Linked DNA regions of Homo sapiens: regions 1, 2 and 3 are each linked to region 4. The links are contacts of gene promoters, found by promoter capture Hi-C in human tissues and cell types (Jung and others, 2019). All regions are on one chromosome and are shown on one strand. Each heading gives the region's core, a stretch centred on a gene start or on the middle of the fragment in contact. The rest is flanking DNA. Distances are from core to core; before and after follow the strand shown.

Region 1 (4,644 bases), core at 241-2,740, 380 kb before region 4:
AGCATCATTTCTCCAGGATATCCTAGATCCTCCCAACAGTCTCTTGCTCCCACCTTTGCCCCCAAGTCTCCTCTCCCTGGTGCTCAGATCATGCACCCCACCCTGTTCAAACCCTCCCTGGCTCCTTGTTACACCAGAGTAAGACACAGACACCCTTCCCTGCCCACAAAACACATGAAGCCTGCCCCCACTCGCCTGTCCCTCCCCTGCTCACCTGCCCAGCCCCCACCTGTCCTTCCCCCTCCCCCTGCCCTCCACCCCACCCCTCCCCTGGCTGTTCTCTGGAAACTTCAACTTTGTCCCCTGCAGAGGGCCTCTGCATCAAGTCCCTTCTCAGAGAGGCTTGGCCTGTTGCTTGCTGCATCCCAGCTGCCCCATCTCTCTCTGCTTTCCCCTCTGTGGGACGTTTGTTTCCATGATCCACCATGACATGGCCTCTGTGGCCCCACAGCAGATGGGGGACACCCAGAAGGGCTCTCAGGAGGGAGCTGTGATTTATCTCAGGGTACAGGGCCCTGCAGGTCCTTGCTAAGCACCAGTGTCTGCCCCTCCCATGGATGCCCAGCCCAGTCAGGGCAGCTGCGTCACTCACTATGTTGGCCTGGTGCCCGTGCTCTGTGAGTTCAGCTGGACTGTGGTGTCCTCACCGTGTTTGCTAACTTGTTCCCACCAGGCTATTTCCTTGGCCTCTGGACATGCAGCCTACTGTAAATGATCATCTCAGTGAACCTTGTGCAGCTTTGCCAGAGGGACCCTAAAAAAGATGCCCACTCCTCCTGTGTACTCTTGTGTGGGTGAACTGGCAGATGATGAGAAGGGGGTGTCACTCGGGGAGGGCTGGTGCCCTGGAAGCATGTGGAGCCTGCAACGGCCCTGCTGCTGCTGGCTAGGACAGAGTGGGAAGTCAGGTGGGCCTGGGGTACCCAGGGATGTGGCAACAGGACAGGGATTTTGTGACGGCCTCAAGGCGAGGCTTCTGGAGAGCCCCAGAGGATCCGGCCAGGAGCAGGCCCAGCTCCTCTCCAGCTTGCTGTGCCTCAAAGAATCCTCTGGATCTCTCTGCCTCAGTTTCCCTAGCTCACCACTGACAGGCTGGACTTCAGGCCCTCTGCAGTGGCCCACAGAAACACCCATGATTCTGCATGGCCACCCCAAAAAAGATGCTGAAGTCTTTTTCCTGTGAATATGCCCTTATTTGGAAAAAGGGTCTTTGCAGGTATAATCAAGTGCAGGTGAGGTCATTGGGGTGGCCCTAACCCAAGAGGCATATGTCCTTATGTGAAGGTCGTGTGGAGACAGAGACTCAGCAGGTGGCCGCATGACAAGGGAGACAGAGGTTGCAGTGATGCGGCCACAGGCCGGGAAACACCACAGCTGCCAGGAGCTGGAGGAGGCAGGAAGGATCCTCCCCTGGAGCCTCCAGAGACAGTGCGGCCCAGTGACACTTTGATCTGAGACCTCTGGCTCCAGGCCTGAGACAAGACTTTTCTGTTGCTTTAAGCTGCCTGGTTTGTGGCTGTTGTCACAGCAGCCCCAGGACACTGGCACTCCTGACATCTCAGCTGGCCGCCACCTTGAGAGGAACCAGCTCTTCTCCCCTGAAGTCTACCTTTCTCCAGCCTAGACCACAAGGAAGGACACTGTCTTGCACCCTGCAGGGAGCACCCGTGACCCCGTTGGGGGATGGAGACCCTGTGTATTGTGGGAGGACGTGACACATCCCTGCAAGGAGGACCATCTGCTTCCTCTCTCCTCGTGGTGCGTGGGCCTGACCTGGAATTCAGAGCTTTGGATTACCTCGCTGCCTGTGTGGAGGCTCCTCAAGTGGGACACCCTCTGTGTGTTCTGCTGTGTCGTCTATCTTAGGTCAGAGCCAAAGCACACGGCACACTTTTTAAGCCTTTCAGAGTTAATTTGTCAGAAGGCAGGGCCTGCTGGGTAAACACTGGGAGCTGGGGACCCCAGCCTGGCTGCCAGGGCTGGAGAGGGCGCTGCCTGGAGCCTCACAGAGCCTGGGAGCTCCACGCCAGTGCCGCTCTTCCGCCTGCCGTGATTGTCCCCGGGTAGCCGCTGAGCCCGCCCGTTGTCACCAGTTTTTCAGGTGACCTCAGTGGCCTGCCAGTCGGGCCTCAGGGCTCATGCAGCCCATGAAGAATTTCTGGGTCCTCGTTTTCCTGAACATTTATCTTCCATCCTGGAACATTTGCGCGTCCTCACTGAGAAGACAGAGAATGCACCCCAACCCTGGCCCCTGCAGGAGGCTGGGAAGCCGCGCTGGGACAGTGACGCCCTGCTCGTGACTTGCCGCCGGGCAGCCCTGGCCATTCCCAGAGCGGCTCTGGTCTCATTTCCGGGGATGGGGCCTCTCCTGTCCTGCCCCCTCCTGTTGGCACCCTCCCTGCAGCCGGGGCCTGGGGTTGGGAGAGGGAGGCTCTGACAGTAGGGAATGACCTGGCATGGGCCACAGCGAGGAGGCCAGAGGTGCCTGGGACAGGCACGGAGGGCAGGGCTGTAAACGGGAATTGGAAGAGGACGGGGCCGGGGCAGGCGGGATGGCAGCAAGAGCTGGCCAGAGTCCACAGGGCACATGGCTATTGCTCTAGCTCCAGCCCCATTTCTCCCAAACCTCCGAGTTTTGGGAAGCTCAGGAATTAAACAGTTATGTCCTAAAGACCCGTATCATGCCTTGAATCCCATGTGTGGGTGAAAAGTCATCGAGGCAGACGACAGATCCATATGGAGTGTGCCCTGAGCACGTGTATCCCCGGCACGGGGGGGTGGGTGGGGCCTGCTGTGTGGAATGACTGAGGGGCCGCTCCCCACTTCGGGGACCTTTTGGATGGAAGGCTGAGTTTCCAGGGGCCGAGTGGCATTTGGGAGTGGCCACTGCTGTGGTTACACTAATGGCATTATCTCCTGGCCCAGTGGAGGGGGCTGAGCCCAGACCCAGGCCACCTGCTTTGTAGGAACTCGGGGAGGCAGGGCAATGGCCACCAGCAGGGTTCCCATTTTATGGGTCAGGAAATGGAAGCCCAGCGAAGTGAAGGGATTTGCTCTTCCCTCTCACCCAGGGGCAGTTTAACCCCGCCTGCAGCCCCACCCAAGCCGGGCCCTATCTCGAGCAGTGACATTCAGAGAGGACAGAGAGCCACAGCATGTGTGGGGATGCTGACTTCAGGCCACGTGGCACTTTCTCATGGATGACATGTCCTGACCCCACAAGGGTTTTACCTCCCGGGGGTAATGCTCCGAGGCCGGGCACCCTACACTCCGAGGCCAAGAGCCAAAGCAGCTGAGTCAGTCACGAGACACAGGCCCAGATGCGCCATTCAGCTCACATAACGTGCAGCCCACATCCCTGTGGGTCAAAACAGCCAAGATCTATTTTTGCATGTTGCAAGTCCAAGGAGGGTTGAAGTTACTCAAGGCTCAAGGGGAGGGAGTACCCCATGCCCTGAGTCTCTGCTGCCCATGGCCCAAGGCCCAGGAAGCAAGCAGTCAGAGCCAAGAGCCAGCAATCGCCCCCACCCAGAAGACCCACTGCCAGGCCCAGCTCCAGGGGCAGGGAGGGCAGGCACAGCCATCAGAGACAGCCGAAAACCTGCCCAAGAGTCAGGTCACACTCCGTATGGATCTGCTCTTCCAGAAACACAGCCGTGCAGTAGCCTGGATGTAGCCTCTGCCCCGGTACTAGAAGGCCCCGTGGCATAATCAGAAACAGATTCCTGGCATGGAGCTTTTAAAGCCCTTGTAACTTCCTGAGCGATGGGGTGAGAGAAACATCACGTGTTACAATATTTTGTCCTAGCTCCTAAGACCCTTGGACTCTTGGGAGACATGAATGTTTTCTGTTTGTTGATGAGATGCCTGGAGGTGAGGCCCTAGCCAGCTTCAGAATGGGGTGCTGGTGGCAGAAAGATTAAGGCAGATGCCTGGAGGTGAGGCCCTAACCAGGTTCAGGATGGGGTGCTGGTGGCTAGAAAGACCAAGACAGATGACTGGAGGTGGGGCCCTAGCCAGCTTCAGGATGGGGTGCTGGTGGCTAGAAAGACCAAGGCAGGAGGCGGGGCCCTAGGCAGCTTCAGAATGGGGCGCTGGTGGCAGAAAGATTAAGGCAGATGACTGGAGGCGGGGACCTAGGCAGCATCAGAATGGGGTGCTGGTGGCAGAAAGACCAAGGCAGGATTCGAGGCTGGGACTTGCTGGAACCTGTGACCTCCGTGCAGAGGTTGGGGACTGAGTCAGTCACCAGGAGTCACTAACTTCACCAGTCATGCGTCACGGAGGCTCCTTCAAACCCCCACACAGAGGATGCAGAGAGCTACCGGGCTGGGAACACATCCTGAGCTGGGAGGGCGGGGCAGCCGGGGCTCCACGGATGCCAGCTCCTGCACTCAGGGTCCCTCTGGGCCTTGCCCTGCGCACCCCTCACCTGCTGCTCATCTGTGTCCTTCAGCACACCCTTTATTAGGAGAGTAACCCAGCAAACAGAAGTGACGTTTCCCTGAGTTTTGTGAATTATTATAGCAAATTATTGAACCTAAGGAGGGGGTCATGGGAACTCCCAATTTATAGCCGAGGTACTGGGGACAGATGACACCCCGGGACCTGTGATTGGCACTTGGAGTGGGGACAGTTTCCTGG
Region 2 (4,612 bases), core at 1,359-3,858, 330 kb after region 4:
CAGCAGTAACTGGCATGTAATAGGTCCTCCGTAAATGTTTGCTCACTGATGAAAACAGCCCAACTCCTCCATACTCCACACTAGACAACCCAGGATCCCCAAAGGACAGAACAGACTACAGGAGAAGCAAAGACAGTGCTGGGTATCAAGTTCTCAGAATAGGAATTTAATTTTGGAATAAGACTATACTAAAAATTTCTAGTGTATAGCTTACTTACTCAATTCTTAGAATGCTAAAGTGACATTTTTATTTAATTATATGGCAAAGGCTTTCTCAGAAGCATAATTTTAGGGACAAACTCCCTGCTTCCATGTGAACAGATGGTGTCTGCCTTCCCTAAGTACTTGGTAAAGCAGGAGTCATCAGACATGCTAATATTGGTCCGAGCTGTGCTACTAAACAGTTACACTGATCATGGCCAGTCACAGCAAAACCAGCCCTCAGCTCCTCAACTTCAAAATGACTTCTGACGGCCCTTCTCATTAACCTGGATGTTTAGAGCTTGCTGACTGGTCTAGGTGAACTGACAGTGCCCACAAATGGCAAGCTACAGATTGAGTTAAAGTTACTATCCAAACAGGTGGTTGTCAGTTCCAAGGCTCTGCTAAAAATTTCAACCCTGAAATTGTTTTTTTTTGTTTTTTGTTTTTTGAGACAGGGTCTCACTCTGTCGCCCAGACTGGAGTGAAGTGGCACAAACATGGCTCACCGCAGCCTCAAATTCCTGGGCTCAAGCGATCCTCTGGCCTGTCTCCCAAGTAGCTAGGACTAGAAGCACGCACCACCATGCCCAGCTAACTCTGAAATGTATACAATCGCTTCAAACTGCTAACAGATCTCAGTTAAAAATAAGAAAAATGGGCCAGGCGCGGTGGCTCATGCCTGTAATCCAGCACTTTGAGAGGCCGAGGCGGGCAGATCACAAGGTCAGGAGATCGAGACCATCCTGGCTAACACGGTGAACTCCATCCTTACTAAAAATACAAAAAAATTAGCCAGGTGTGGTGGTGGGCGCCTGTAGTCCCAGCTACTCGGGAGGCTGAGGCAGGAGAATAGCGTGAACCCAGGAGGCGGAGTCGGAGCTTGCAGTAAGCCGAGATCACGCCACTGCACTCCAGCCTGGGCAATAGAGCGAGACTCTGTCTCAAAAAAAAAAAAAGAAAAGAAAAGAAAAATGTCCAAACATACAATGGAATGGTCCCTGGTCACTGTTAAAAAAAAAAAATTGCAAACAGGGGCCTAAAATAATATTCAGAAATTAAACACCATGTAACAAATGTCCAAAAAGCCACATAAGGGAGAGAGCACAGAAGAGGCTGGACTTTTCCTAAGAAGGGATCACCCCACCTTGTAACCACATCTAGAACCCAGAAGCCCAAATGTCAAGATAACATTCCCTCGGTCAGGAGTACACGAAGGACAAACCTCCAAAGACAGACGCAGCTGTCTAAAACCAAAGACGCTTGATGAATGCCGGCCACTGCGCGCTTGGTAGCTAACACAGACAGTGGTGCGGCAGGTGGCATGGTGCCCCACAACATCCTAACCCTCAAAACCTGTGAATGTCACCTTATTTGGGAAAGGGGTCTTTGTAGACTTAATTAAGTTCAGGAGCTCAAGATGTGATTATCCCAGATTATCCAGGCAGGCCCTATATATAGCTGGATTCTAGATATATTTCAAAGATAATGTCAGTTGTGAGAGAAAAAAGAAGTCATAAATGACTCCAAGGTTATCAATTTTTAATTTAAAAACAAATATTCTCTAAGGCCAAAATACTGTGACTATATTTGACATTAAGAGCAGATAGAGGAAAGATTTGAGGAAGAAAGAAGGTGAGACACAGGACAGGAAGCCACAGGAAGCTCTGAGGCAACCCACCACAGAGGCAGGCACTGAGGTGGGAATGTTTTGACTGTTTAAGACCCTGCAGCTGTCTGGGCACAGTGGCTTATGCCTGTAATCCCAGCACTTTGGGAGGCCAAAGAGGGCGGATTGCTTGAATCCAGGAGTTCAAAACGTGCCTGGGCAACATGGCGAAACCCCATCTCTACTGAAAATACAAAAAATTAACTGGGCATGGTGGCACACAAGCAGCTACTCGGGAGATTGAGGTGGGAGAATCACCTGACCCCAGGAGGTCAAGGCTGCAGTGAGCCGAGATCATGCCACTGCACTCCAGTCTGGGCGACACAGTGAGACCATGTCTTAAAAAAAAAAGACCCTGTAATCTTCTGCCGTTGCTGGTCTCTAACTCCAGATCTAAAGCCACCAGGTCTAGAGTGGAGCACGGGGGTGGGAGGGTCAGTACTTGGAGATCAGTGTGCAATACCTTTGGAGACCACACACTTACACACTAAGGCATGCGACTCCAGGGAAGACACTCTGTCAACTGGCAACAAACTTTCCTACGACAAAAAAATCCTTAAGTCAGTTATTTGTATTTCCATTAAAAGATAACCAACTCAGCCAGAGTGAGCCACACAATCACACTGTCAGTTGGCAGGCCTCTGGTGGAAGCACACAGCAAAAACTCTCTAAGGAAAGACTGGTTCATGTGTTATGCCCGACATACTTTTTTTTTTTTTTTTTTGAGACGGAGTCTCACGCCAGGCTGGAGTGCAGTGGCATGATCTCGGCTCACTGCAACCTCCGCCTCCCAGATTCAAGCAATTCTCCTGCCTCAACCTCCCGAGTAGCTGGGACTACAGACGCGAGCCACCACGCCCAGCTAATTTTTGTATTTTTAGTAGAGACGGGGTTTCACCATGTTGGCCAGGGTGGTCTCAATCTCTTGACCTCATGATCCACCCACCTTGGCCTCCCAAAGTGCTGGGATTATGGCCATGAGTCACTGCGCCCAGCCTTTATTTTTTTTTCTGAGACCAGGTCTTGCTCTGTCACCCAGGTTGCAGTGTGAGGTACAATCACAGATCACTGCAGCCTTGACGTCCCAGGTCCAAGTGATCCTCCCGCCTCGGCCTCCCAAGTAGCTGGGAGTACAAGCGCACACCACCACACCTGGCTAACTTTTTTATTTTCATTTTTGTAGAGATAGGAATTCCCTATGTTGCCCAAGCTGTATCATACTTGATTATTTCAGAGATTCATCAGCACTTAAGAAAAAAAGAAAAAAAAAAAGAAAATCAGACCTTTCCATTTCATTTGCATAAAGAACTTACTAGAAACTCTTCAGAAACACATCTTGTAGTAAAGTAGGTGTGTGAGCTGAAAAGAAAGGAAGCTTTTCAATTCTAAAGTATCAGTTCAAATCCACCCTGGAGTTGGGCTAATAACACTAACAGCACGGGTTCCCAAACTGTGTACCTAGGCTTCCCACACACTACGCAGAGAGGCACCAAGAGATATTTTAAATTTATGAGGGAAACAGCAATGCTTGTGGTGTAGGAACCCCACACAAGGTATTCACAGTGTCAACATCAGATCAGGGCTCCACTTCTTTCGATGACATCATTATCGTCGCAAAACAGGGTGGCTGCTCTGATAAAAAGCAAGTACCACCAAAAAGAAGAAGAAAAAAAAAAAACCAAAGGGAGAAGCAGCGTCCAATCCGACCTTCAGGTGAGAGGTGCCACAGAGCTCCCGCAGGGCCTGCCCCCCACGTAGCACACTGCTGCAATTAGGAAGAATGATGAAAATATTTTTTTCTTCCAACTTATATATATTTTTTTTCAAACAGCTCTTGTTAGGACATAATATTTAATAAATTACTGGAATCTAACTACTTAATAAATGGAATTTTTAAGTATTCCTTTTAGCCTAGAGATGCCATGAAAAAAATTACCGAGACACTAAAAGCATTGTGAACAGAGAAAATTGAGGAACCTCTCCTTAGTAACTTTTTTTGCACACTGACTATAATCCTGACACTCTCCTGAGTGCTTTACACACCCTTCTCAACCCGATGGGGTTGGTACTGTACCCGTTTCACAGCTAAGGGTCTGTGAAATTATGTAAGAACCGAGGTCATGCGTACAAGATGGAATGGTTTGTAACCATGCTCGGGTAGAAATGACATAGTAAGTTAAGCACATTTGTTGGTGCCTTTAGTCCCCGCCTCCAAATACATACTCTCTGCAACAACTGCGATTTCCTAAGAAGAATGTTTCTCCTACTTTTCAATCTTTGGTTCAACATTGCCTTGAGAATTCAATATGAAACAAAATCTGCATTTATAACATATTCACCCATTTAAACAGACATTTCAAGTGACTTTTCTGGTAGTAAAACTAGTGATGGTTAAATCGCAAGCACCACATTTTCAGGTTTAGTAGAAAATTTCAATGTGCAAATTTAAAAACTTTAACCTGGCTGGGCGCGGTGGCTCATGCCTATAATCCCAGCACTTTGGGAGGCTGAGGCGGGCAGATCACAAGGTCAGATCAAGACCATCCTGGCTGACACGGTGAAACCCCGTCTCTACTAAAAATACAAAAAATTAGCCAGGCGTGGTGGCGGGCGCCTGTAGTCCCAGCTACTCGGAAGGCTGAGGCAGGAGAATGGCGTGAACCCGGGAGGCGGAGCTTGCAGTTAGCCAAGATCACACCACTGCACTCCAGCCTGGGCAACAAAGCAAGACTCCGTCTCAAA
Region 3 (4,681 bases), core at 1,126-3,625, 310 kb before region 4:
ACAGGCACGTGCCACCACACCCAGCTAATTTTTGTATTTTTAGTAGAGGCGGGGTTGCACCATGTTAGCCAGGATGGTCTCGATCTCTTGACCTCATGATCCAGCCGCCTTGCCCTCCCAAAGTGCTGGGATTACAGGCGTGAGCCACCTGAGTTTGATATTACATATATGTGATGCTGTTTAATGATGTCTCACAGGCTCTTTTCATTTTTCTTAATTCTTTTTCTTCCTCTCCTTCATTTTGGATAATTTCTATTGATGTGCTTCAAGTTCATGAACTCTTCTTCAATCTCATTCTATATTTACGTCTATCATGTGGATTTTAAAATATCAGCTATTGTACATTTTAGTTCTAGCATTCCCATTTAAAAAATAGTTTCAATTTCCCTACTGAGATTCTCTATCTTTGATCTTGAGTTAATTTTGTATATGGTGTGAGGTAAGGGTTAAAAATAATCTTTTGTGTGTGGATATCCTGTTTTCCCACTGCCATTTGTTAAAAAGTCTGTTCTTCCCTCACTGAAAGGTCTTGACAGCCTTGCCGAAAATTATTTGACTGTAGTTGTGAGAGTTTATTTCTGGGCTCTCTATGCTATTCCATTAGTCTATATATTGGTCTTTATGCCAGTACCACAGTTTTGATTAGTGTAGCTTTGTAGTAAGTTTTGAAATCAGAAAGTGTGACTCCTCCAGCTCTATTCTTTTCTTAAGATTGATTTGGCTATTTAGGGTCCCTTGAGACTCCACATAAACTTTAGGATGGGTTTTTCTATTTCTGCAAGAAATGTCCTTGGGATTTTGACAGGGATTGCATTGAATCTGTAGATTGCTTTGGTTAGTATGGACATATTAACAATATTAATTTCCAATTCATGAACATGGGATGTGTTTCCATTTATTTCTGTTGCCTTTAATTTCTTTCAACGTTTTGTAGTTTTTGTTACACAATTATTTTAATTCTTTGGTTAACTCCTGAGTATTTTGTTCTTTTTAATGTATTGTAAATGGAATTGTTATTGTACTTTCCTTTTGAGATTATGCTTGTTAGTTTATGGAAATAGAACTGATTTTTGTGTTTTGCTTTTGTATCCTGCTACTTTGCTGAATTCATTTATTCTAAAATTTTTGTGTGTGGAATATTTAGAGTTTTCTACATATAAAAATCATGTCATCTGTGAACACAGCTAACTTTACTTCTTGCTTTTCAATTTGGATGCTTTTTGTTTCTTTCTTTCTTCCTTTTAAAAACAATTGCCTAGTTGCTCTTAGTAAAACTTCTAGTACTATGCTGGCTTTGTTCCCAATATTAGAGAAAAAGCCTTCAGTTTTTCACCAGTGGGTATGAGGCTTGCTGTGGGTCTTTCATGTATGGCTTGTATTGTGTTGAGGTAGTTTTCTTCTATTCTTAGTTTGTTGATTGTTGTCATCATGAAAGAATCTTGAATTTTGTGAAATGCCTTTTCTATATCAATTGAGATGATCACGTGGTTTTTTCCTTCATTCTGTTATCATGATGCCAAGTTCCAAGTGATCTGGTGTTGACATCTGTAGGCTCAGAGATTCTACTGTCCCTGCAGTACAGGGTGCACATGGCTTTCTGCTGAACATACCCAGAAGTCATTCTGGCCCTTGGAACCTTCTATATTCAGCTCACACATATCCTGCTGTGGCTGTCCATGGGACCCTTCACTGGCCTCACATGCTTCCCTGGGAACATGCTTGGACCAGCTTGATTTCCTTAGAGCTGTGTCTCCATGCATGAGGGCCAGTGGTGTTGTCTCATCTTGGTTCTTAACTAGGAGGATTTCTCAAGACAAAGATCCATGGTCACCACTCACAAGAAGTTCTCTGTGACCCACACCCTTTGTCCCCACTCATCCTATGGACAAGTGATTTCCATGTTCTTCCTCCATCTGCTAGCTCTCATCCAGCTCTAAGCTCTCAGGACACCCACAGATCAGCTAGACACGTCCTGTTCTACCTCACATTGACTGTGGAGCCTTCCTGAGCCATGAGAGGAGTGTAAACTTCTGTGGTTTAAGGACCATCATCACACAGAGAGGAAAAAAATCTGGAGATCTGAGTTTTTGGAATCTCACAAAAGTAACTCAGGTAAAATTTTAAAGAACAAGGAAGAATCTTGATGAAGCCAGTAAAACACTCTGGCAGGTTTCCAAGCATACCAAGAGTTCGAAGAAGGTGCAATTAGTCATGAAGCTAAGGGCCAAACAAAACCCAGAGACACCTACAACAGAAAATTAAGCTCCAGGAGACAGCACTGAGGAAGAAAAACAAGGAAGACAGGTGTGCTTCTGTGCTGTGGGGATGCCTGGGCCCAGGTATAAAGGCTGCCCAGGGAGGCCGTCCCCAGACATCACTGCCCTCTGCCTCGACCTTATCCAGCCACACGCCACCATGTGTCATACCAGCTGCTCCTCGGGCTGCCAGCCAGCCTGCTGCGCGCCCAGCCCCTGCCAGCCAGCCTGTTGTGTGCCCAGCTCCTGCCAGGCATCCTGCTGTGTGCCTGTGGGCTGCCAGTCCTCCGTGTGTGTGCCCGTGAGCTTCAAGCCAGCCGTGTGCCTGCCCGTGAGCTGCCAGTCTTCTGTGTGTGTGCCCATGAGCTTCAAGTCAGCTGTGTGCGTGCCCGTGAGCTGCCAGTCTTCTGTGTGTGTGCCTGTGAGCTGCAGGCCCATTGTGTGTGCAGCCCCCTCCTGCCAGTCCTCCCTGTGCGTGCCTGTGAGCTGCAGGCCTGTCGTGTATGCGGCTCCGTCCTGCCAGTCCTCTGGGTGCTGCCAGCCCTCCTGCACCAGCGTCCTCTGCAGACCCATCTCCTACAGTATCTCTTCCTGCTGCTGAGCATGAATCTCCAGACCCGCTGCTCCCAGTGCAGATGAGGCCACACCTGTACACTCCCTGGATGAGTCCTCAGTTGGTCTTCTGCACATGGTGCAGGTGAAAAGCATGCTCAGTTGAACCCTCTGAATTCTGGATTGAGAATGTGACAGAATGATCTGGAGCCCTTGCTGACCTTGCCCATCCCCCCAGGGAAGTCTGGGGTCCCAGAGTCATTCTCTGACCCCATGAGAGCCAAATAAACCAGCTTTCCCCATGCAGCTCTGCATTTCTGGTCTTTCTTTTTTATTTCCATACTCCCTGCTATCTATTCTGCTGATTACATAGAATTTGCTGCTAAACCCTCTTCAGTGATCCCTTCACCCAGTGCTCATCAGAAGGTGGTGTCCCGGGTGGAGGGCGCAGCTGCAGATGCCCATGTGGTCTCTCCCAGGGCTCCTGGGGCCCAGGTGCAGTGGCCACAGAAGTGACTTACCCGCCTGTGGTAGAGTGGTCTCGCTTCCCCACTGGCTGTCCACTCCTGCTCCAGGCCAACAAGCCCTGCACTGATGGCCAAAGCCTCAGAGCATTGACAATTGGGTTTTCTGATGTGGTTGGTGGACGTCCTGTTTCCCAGGTCGCGGAGGATCTCAAGTTTACAGAACTGGATTAGTTCTGCGGCACACACTCCCATCACTGGTCCACAAAGGCTTGGTTTTTATTGATTGACTGATGATCAATTACTGAGGATCCTAATATAATAAACCCGCATGAACCCACTGCCTGACATAGAAATGAGAACATCATCAATAATTTACCAAGAACTTCTTGGGGCAGCCACTGTTGGGATTGTGTGCTCCTTATTCTGTTACTTTCTAGAAAAAATAGAGTTGAGTCATATCTCTATGTATTCCTGAAATGGGTGTTTTCTAATTTAGTAATTTCTGGTGATATGAAAAGGAAATTATTCAGAATGTAATCTGGAACTTGCTTTTCCCAGTCTGCGTTGTGCTGGTAGCATTCTTCTGCATTTCCCCTGTCTGGGCTGTATTCCCCTCCTGGGGGGCTCTGCTGTGACTGTCTCAGGTTAAACGTTCCCCAGTAGATGGGCCAGCCCTCTTGCCCCAGGAGTCTGCTATTCCAGATAGCATAGCCCAGAACTGTCCCCTGAAGAACGTTCTCACTACTGGCTGCCTTCGATTCCAAGATTTTTATTTGCCTTGGAGGCAAGTGTTGAGTTTAGGGTTAAAAAACTGGTTTCATCATCTTTTAGGCAAGGTGGTCAGGGACCTATTGTGTAGTTTAAACTGGGAGGCTTTGGATAAAACTGAGTGAGAAATGGAACCAATCAACCCAGACATATAAATGCTTGCAGCCGAACACATTCGAATCCATGAACACACCCAATGTGTGCACTATACAACGTGCACACACTTATGCACACACGTAAGCACTCTGGTCCCCCAGGCTGGGAGTTAGAGGTCAAACTGGAAATCAGAGCATGAGAGGAGGGAGGGTTGGTAACCAAAAAATGCTTCTGGAGAACCTACCTGCCCTGTGCACAGAGAAGCATGGATGAGGCCTGGCTCAGCCCCCGCCCTCTGGAGCTGTGGCCCTCAGGGCCACTTGGAGCCCAAGTTCTGTGATGCTAGTGCTCCACATGGGGCATTTGTTAGCAAGTCCAGGTTTTTGCATGGACGTATTTGTTTCTTTCTCTTGGGTAAATGTCTAGGAGTGGAATAGCTGGGTCATATGCTAAGTATCTTTTTGCCAACACCATCCTGCCCTGATAAATGCAGCTTTATAGTAGGTCTTGAAATCAGCTAGTGTGAGTTCTCCAATTTTGTTC
Region 4 (4,607 bases), core at 2,040-4,539:
GCACCATGACAGTTGGCAGATGCCATGGCAACATCAGAAATACCCTGTATGGTCTGAAAGAAAGAGGAAATCAGTTCTGGGAAATCCCCGCTCCTTTCCCATAAAACTCATGAATAATCCACCCTTGTTAAGCACATGATCCAAAACTACCATAAAAATAGCCAACCAGCCAAGCACGGTGGCTTATGCCTGAAATCCCAGCACTTTGGGAGGCCAAGGCTGGTGGATCACCTGAGGTCAGGAGTTCCAGACCAGCCTGGCCAACATGGTGAATCGCATGAACCTGGGAGACGAAGGTTGCAGCGAGCCAAGATCATGCCATTGCACTCCAGCCTGGGCGACAGAGCGAGACCCCGTCTCAAAAAAAAAAAAAAAAAATAGCCAAGCAGCAGCCCTCAGGGCTGCTCTGCCTATGGAGAAGCCATTCTTTTATTCCTTTACATTGTTAATAACTTGCTTTCACTTTACTCTGTGGACTCGCTCCAAATACTTTCTCGTGTGAGATCCAAGAACCCGCCCTTGGGGTCTGGATCGGGACCCCTTTCCAGTAACAAGGGTGAGCTCCGAGGCTGGAGTACCACTGCTCTACAGACCCCGCTCCTTCCACATGGGGCTCTTCATCACTGTCTCTACATCCAGCCCTCCATGGCCGCGAGTTTTGCATCTGCAGATTCAGCCAAACGCAGACTAAAAATATTCAGGAAAAAAAAAACAATTAAAAATAACATAGCCAGATGCAGTGGCTCACGCCTGTAATCCCAGCACTTTGGGAGGCCGAGGCGGGTGGATCACCTGCCTCGGCCTCCCAAAGTGCTGGGATTACAGGCGTGAGCCACCGCGCCCGGCCCAAAAATACAAATTTTTTAAATGCAGTATAACTATTTTTATAACATCTACATTGTATCAGGTATTATAAGTAATCTAGAGATGATTTAAAGTATGCTGAAGGATGTACATAGTTTATATGCAAATACCACACCATCTCATATCAGTGACTTGATATGAGATTTTGGGACTGATACGAGATATGGGATTTTGGTGTCCGTGGGTGTCCGGGAACAATTCCCCAGGGATGCGGAGGGACAGCTGTTGTATTGGTGACCGTGAAACTCTGATGATGTACCGAGTACACTAGAGGTACCCTGGGGCAACACAGTCTTCTTCTATTTCCCAAGCACAGGATGCTTCTCCCTCCCCATATTCAGTAAATATGAGCTGAAGGCCACTCTCTGGGAATTAACACAACACTCTGCTTTCGTCCCAGCCCCCCAGAAGCTCAGCAGCTAGCAAGAAAGATGAACACAAAGCCACACAGTTACAGCACGACAGCTGGGATCAAAGAGAAACACACGGTGCGGTAGGAGGGAAGCTCACTTCCTGGTAGAGGTTGTATAGTCACGGAAGGCTGCACGGCAGAGGCAGCATCTGCAATAGGCCTTGAGGGATAAGTAGGAGCTCACCAGGCAATGGAGTAAAAGGAGGAAGCGTGTGGCCCATTTGTGGAAGAGCATGAAATGGGTGTTGCTCGGGGAGGGCACACAAACATGAATCAACACTCTGTCCGTGCCTAAAGGGGCGCCAACTGCGGGGAGCACCATCGGCTCCGGAGGGCCATATCCAGCCACTCAGAGACAGTGGCCATGTTGCCTGGGCGGGGGTCTTGGCCACACCTGAGTCGTGGGCTCTGTGGGGAGGAGGGGCAAAGGGGGCTCTGTGGGGCCTGGGGGCAAGTCGGGCCTCTGGCTTTGGCAAGCTGTGCAGGGGGGCAGTCTTCTGGCCATGGACTCTCCCTAAGGCCCTTCCAGTTCCTGGACCCTGGGACTCTCTCTCTTGGGGTGGGGGCAGGTGTGGAAATGAGAGGATTAGAGGATGCATCTGTGTTCACACCACTGGGCCTCGCCGCGCGACAGTGCCCTTATGACCCTGAACAAGTCACCTAAACTCTGCACTTTGGTCCCTGCACCTGCGAGGCAGGATGAGGGTCAACTGTCCCCGACAGGAGGCTTGCAAGGGTTAGGTGGAAATGCTCTGTGGACTCTAAGCCTCGTATGGAGACAGAGGTATCTCCAGTGACCCTTCACTGAGGCCCTGAGGGGTCTTGGCCTGATCAGCTACTCCATGTGGGATCGGAAGGAAGAAGTCAGAGGTCTTACACACAAATCACGTCACTTACCCAGCATCAGACAGTTTGGAACTTTCCACAAAATACACGCATTCTTTCTTCTTGATGTTTTCAGGAATCCACGAACTGAGGCTTTCTTGCTGAAGGTAAAGACAGCACACTGAGATCTTCCAACATTCGAAAGAGCACACCCAGCCCCCTGGAGACACATCTGAGCTCCTTGAGGAGCTTTCACACTATTTGCTTGAAGGAAGGAAGCCTGCGCGACCCTGAGCCAAAGATTAGAAGCACCTTGCCAAGACTCTCCGGTGGGGATTCAGGAGGGAGGAATGAATCTAAGAAATCATTTCCTCTTGGGACCATTTTGAATGTGCGCGCACTTTACAGTTTCTACAGCACCACCACCTTCCTTGGGAACAACATGGTGTGGTGGAAAACGTGGAGGCTGGGGATCTGGGGACCTGGATCTTGCACCATCGGAAAAAGGGCAGCCACCCTCCTGCCTGCCTGGCAAGGGGACTGCAAGATGCCATGTGCTTTCAACATACTTGTGTCTTTGTATCCAGGGCTTTGGGGAAAGCTAGCCCAGGCCCAGGCCCTCCCAATCGGATAAAGGATGTGAAATCATTATGCAACAAGGTAAGCACGGGTAACAGATTTCCAGGACTCTAGCGCAACATTTTTGAGTTAACCCGGTGATTTCCCAATCAGACCAACCATGGGAAATGGTCATGCAACCCACAGAAGACGAGACACGCATCACCCTCCCCAGTTCTGTTCTCCCAAAGGTATGGTTGGGCAGGAGCCCCCAAGGTCAGCAGACCCTTTCCCACCCCCGTCGTCACAGCCTCAAGCTATGACCTGCCCAACGGTGACCTCCGTGGCCACGTGCCAACTGCAGGCTGACCAGCAGAAAGCCTACCTTGTCATTGTTGCCGAAGGGGCACTGTAGCCTCCAGCTCTTGAAGAGGCTGCTGTTGCTGCGCCGGAGATTGGAGACCATCCCCAGGTCAGTGACCCTTCTGGGCAGCCCCTCAAAGCCCTCCTCCTGCTCCGAGCCAGCTTTCCTCAGGGCTGAGGGCTCCATTCTGAGACCCCCACGCCAGCTGCAACCAGGCCTGCTGCCCTCAGGACAGTCCTCTCTCCAGCTCGCTACACTGGGGTTCTAGAGACACATGGGGTGGTTGCTGAAATAGATCAGAGACAGGAAGATGAGGCTGATGTTCTGAGAGGACCTGGCCACATGCTTCCTCATGTGAAGCCCTCATCCGGTTCTCTTCATCAGCCTGCACATGTTCCCAGCTGCCTGAGCTGTGTCCCTTGGCTGGGGCCCCCGGACACTCTGGGGGAGTACATGCACATGCGGGGGTCCCAGCGGCCGTTCATAATGGTAACAACCTCAGGTGACTGCAGGGCCAGAGAAAGAGCTCCCTCCCCCACGGGTGCAGCTGCACTGAGCACCGCACAGGGAAGTCTCCACCGCCAGCACCAGCTGCCAGCGACATGGTTTCGCAACTGTACAATTCTGCACAGCTCCTGCTTCCAGACACCAGTGACTACTTTCATATTCCAAAATTTTTTTAAATAGCCCTCACTGTCCACAAAGGAAGTTTCTTTTTCTTCTTGTTTTTTGAGACGGAGTCCCACTTTGTCGCTCAGGCTGGAGTTCAGTGACGCAGTCTCGGCTCACTGCAACCTCGGTCTCCCTGGTTCAAGTGATTCTCCTGCCTTAGCCTCCCCAGTAGCTGGGATTATGGGCGCCAATCACCACACCCTGCTAATTTTTTTTGTATGTAGTAGCAACAGGGTTTCACCATGTTGGTCAGGTTGGTCTCAAACTCCTGACCTCAGGCGATCCACCAGCCTCCGCTTCCCAAAGTGCTGGTTTTACAGGCGTGAGCCACTGTGCCCAGCCTAGAAAGGAAGTTTTGGGGAGTACCACATCTCTCCACTCCAGGAAAAAGACAATAATTCAAATGAATCTTTTTCTCTCATATCCTTTCCCCCTGGCTCTGATGTGGCCTTCATCACCGAGGCCACAAGAAGCCACCGGATGACTGCCCTCCCTTTACAAATGAGAAACATAAGCATGTTCAAGCCCTGCGGGGCCTCCCTGAGTCCCTGACACCCACAGTGTTCTCATGAGGTCATCCATGGTCATCCCCTGCCACTGCCCCAAAGGTGTCAAGGGGAGGGTTGCTGGGATGCAAAAGATCTGACTGGAATCCCCCCTCATCCCTGCCCTGAAACCAGATCTCTGGCCACGTCCTCTCCACTACACACGACGGTCACTGTCAGACAAGCCTTTGCTCTGCCGTCCCCTCATCACATTAGGTGACTGAGCCCCTCTTCGGGGCCACGCAGCTCGAAGCTCGGTGCCGGGCTCTTGGGGCTGAGCTACGGGCTGCTGTCCTGGGGCGGGCACTCTCAGGCAACCCCACCTCCCCCTCTCCCTCCTCCCCTTTGCCCCTTGGCCACACTCATT

The links. Contacts are between HindIII fragments. The study calls those that stand out against the background at their distance.
Region 1: a fragment that was not itself captured here is called in contact with the fragment with the promoter of TRPM2 in region 4 in 1 of the 25 tissues and cell types used here (lymphoblastoid cells).
Region 2: a fragment that was not itself captured here is called in contact with the fragment with the promoter of TRPM2 in region 4 in 1 of the 25 tissues and cell types used here (lymphoblastoid cells).
Region 3: a contact is called between the fragment with the promoter of KRTAP12-2 here and the fragment with the promoter of TRPM2 in region 4, in 2 of the 25 tissues and cell types used here (heart right ventricle and mesenchymal stem cells).

Annotation. Positions count from the first base shown.
Region 1 is chr21:44,732,800-44,737,443 of GRCh38, reverse strand. No RefSeq gene overlaps it. Among named protein-coding and RNA genes, the nearest start is that of TSPEAR, 24 kb to the right of the region's middle. RefSeq lists enhancers at 725-1,400, 1,401-2,074, 4,101-4,644. The HindIII fragment of the contact is 6,322 bases long and covers 1-4,644 here.
Region 2 is chr21:44,016,674-44,021,285 of GRCh38, reverse strand. The region is part of intron 1 of TRAPPC10 (trafficking protein particle complex subunit 10); the gene reads right to left. Among named protein-coding and RNA genes, the nearest start is that of TRAPPC10, 6.7 kb to the right of the region's middle. The HindIII fragment of the contact is 4,381 bases long and covers 418-4,612 here.
Region 3 is chr21:44,664,621-44,669,301 of GRCh38, reverse strand. It overlaps KRTAP12-2 (keratin associated protein 12-2), which reads left to right and starts at 2,375. Exons shown (of 1, transcript NM_181684.3): 1 at 2,375-3,113. The coding sequence starts at 2,416. The coding sequence ends at 2,856. The region is part of intron 1 of TSPEAR (thrombospondin type laminin G domain and EAR repeats); the gene reads left to right. The HindIII fragment of the contact is 12,719 bases long and covers 1-4,681 here.
Region 4 is chr21:44,352,303-44,356,909 of GRCh38, reverse strand. It overlaps TRPM2 (transient receptor potential cation channel subfamily M member 2), which reads right to left and starts at 3,289. Exons shown (of 32, transcript NM_003307.4): 1 at 3,045-3,289; 2 at 2,174-2,262. The coding sequence starts at 3,209. RefSeq lists enhancers at 2,814-2,863, 3,024-3,073. The HindIII fragment of the contact is 21,861 bases long and covers 1-4,607 here.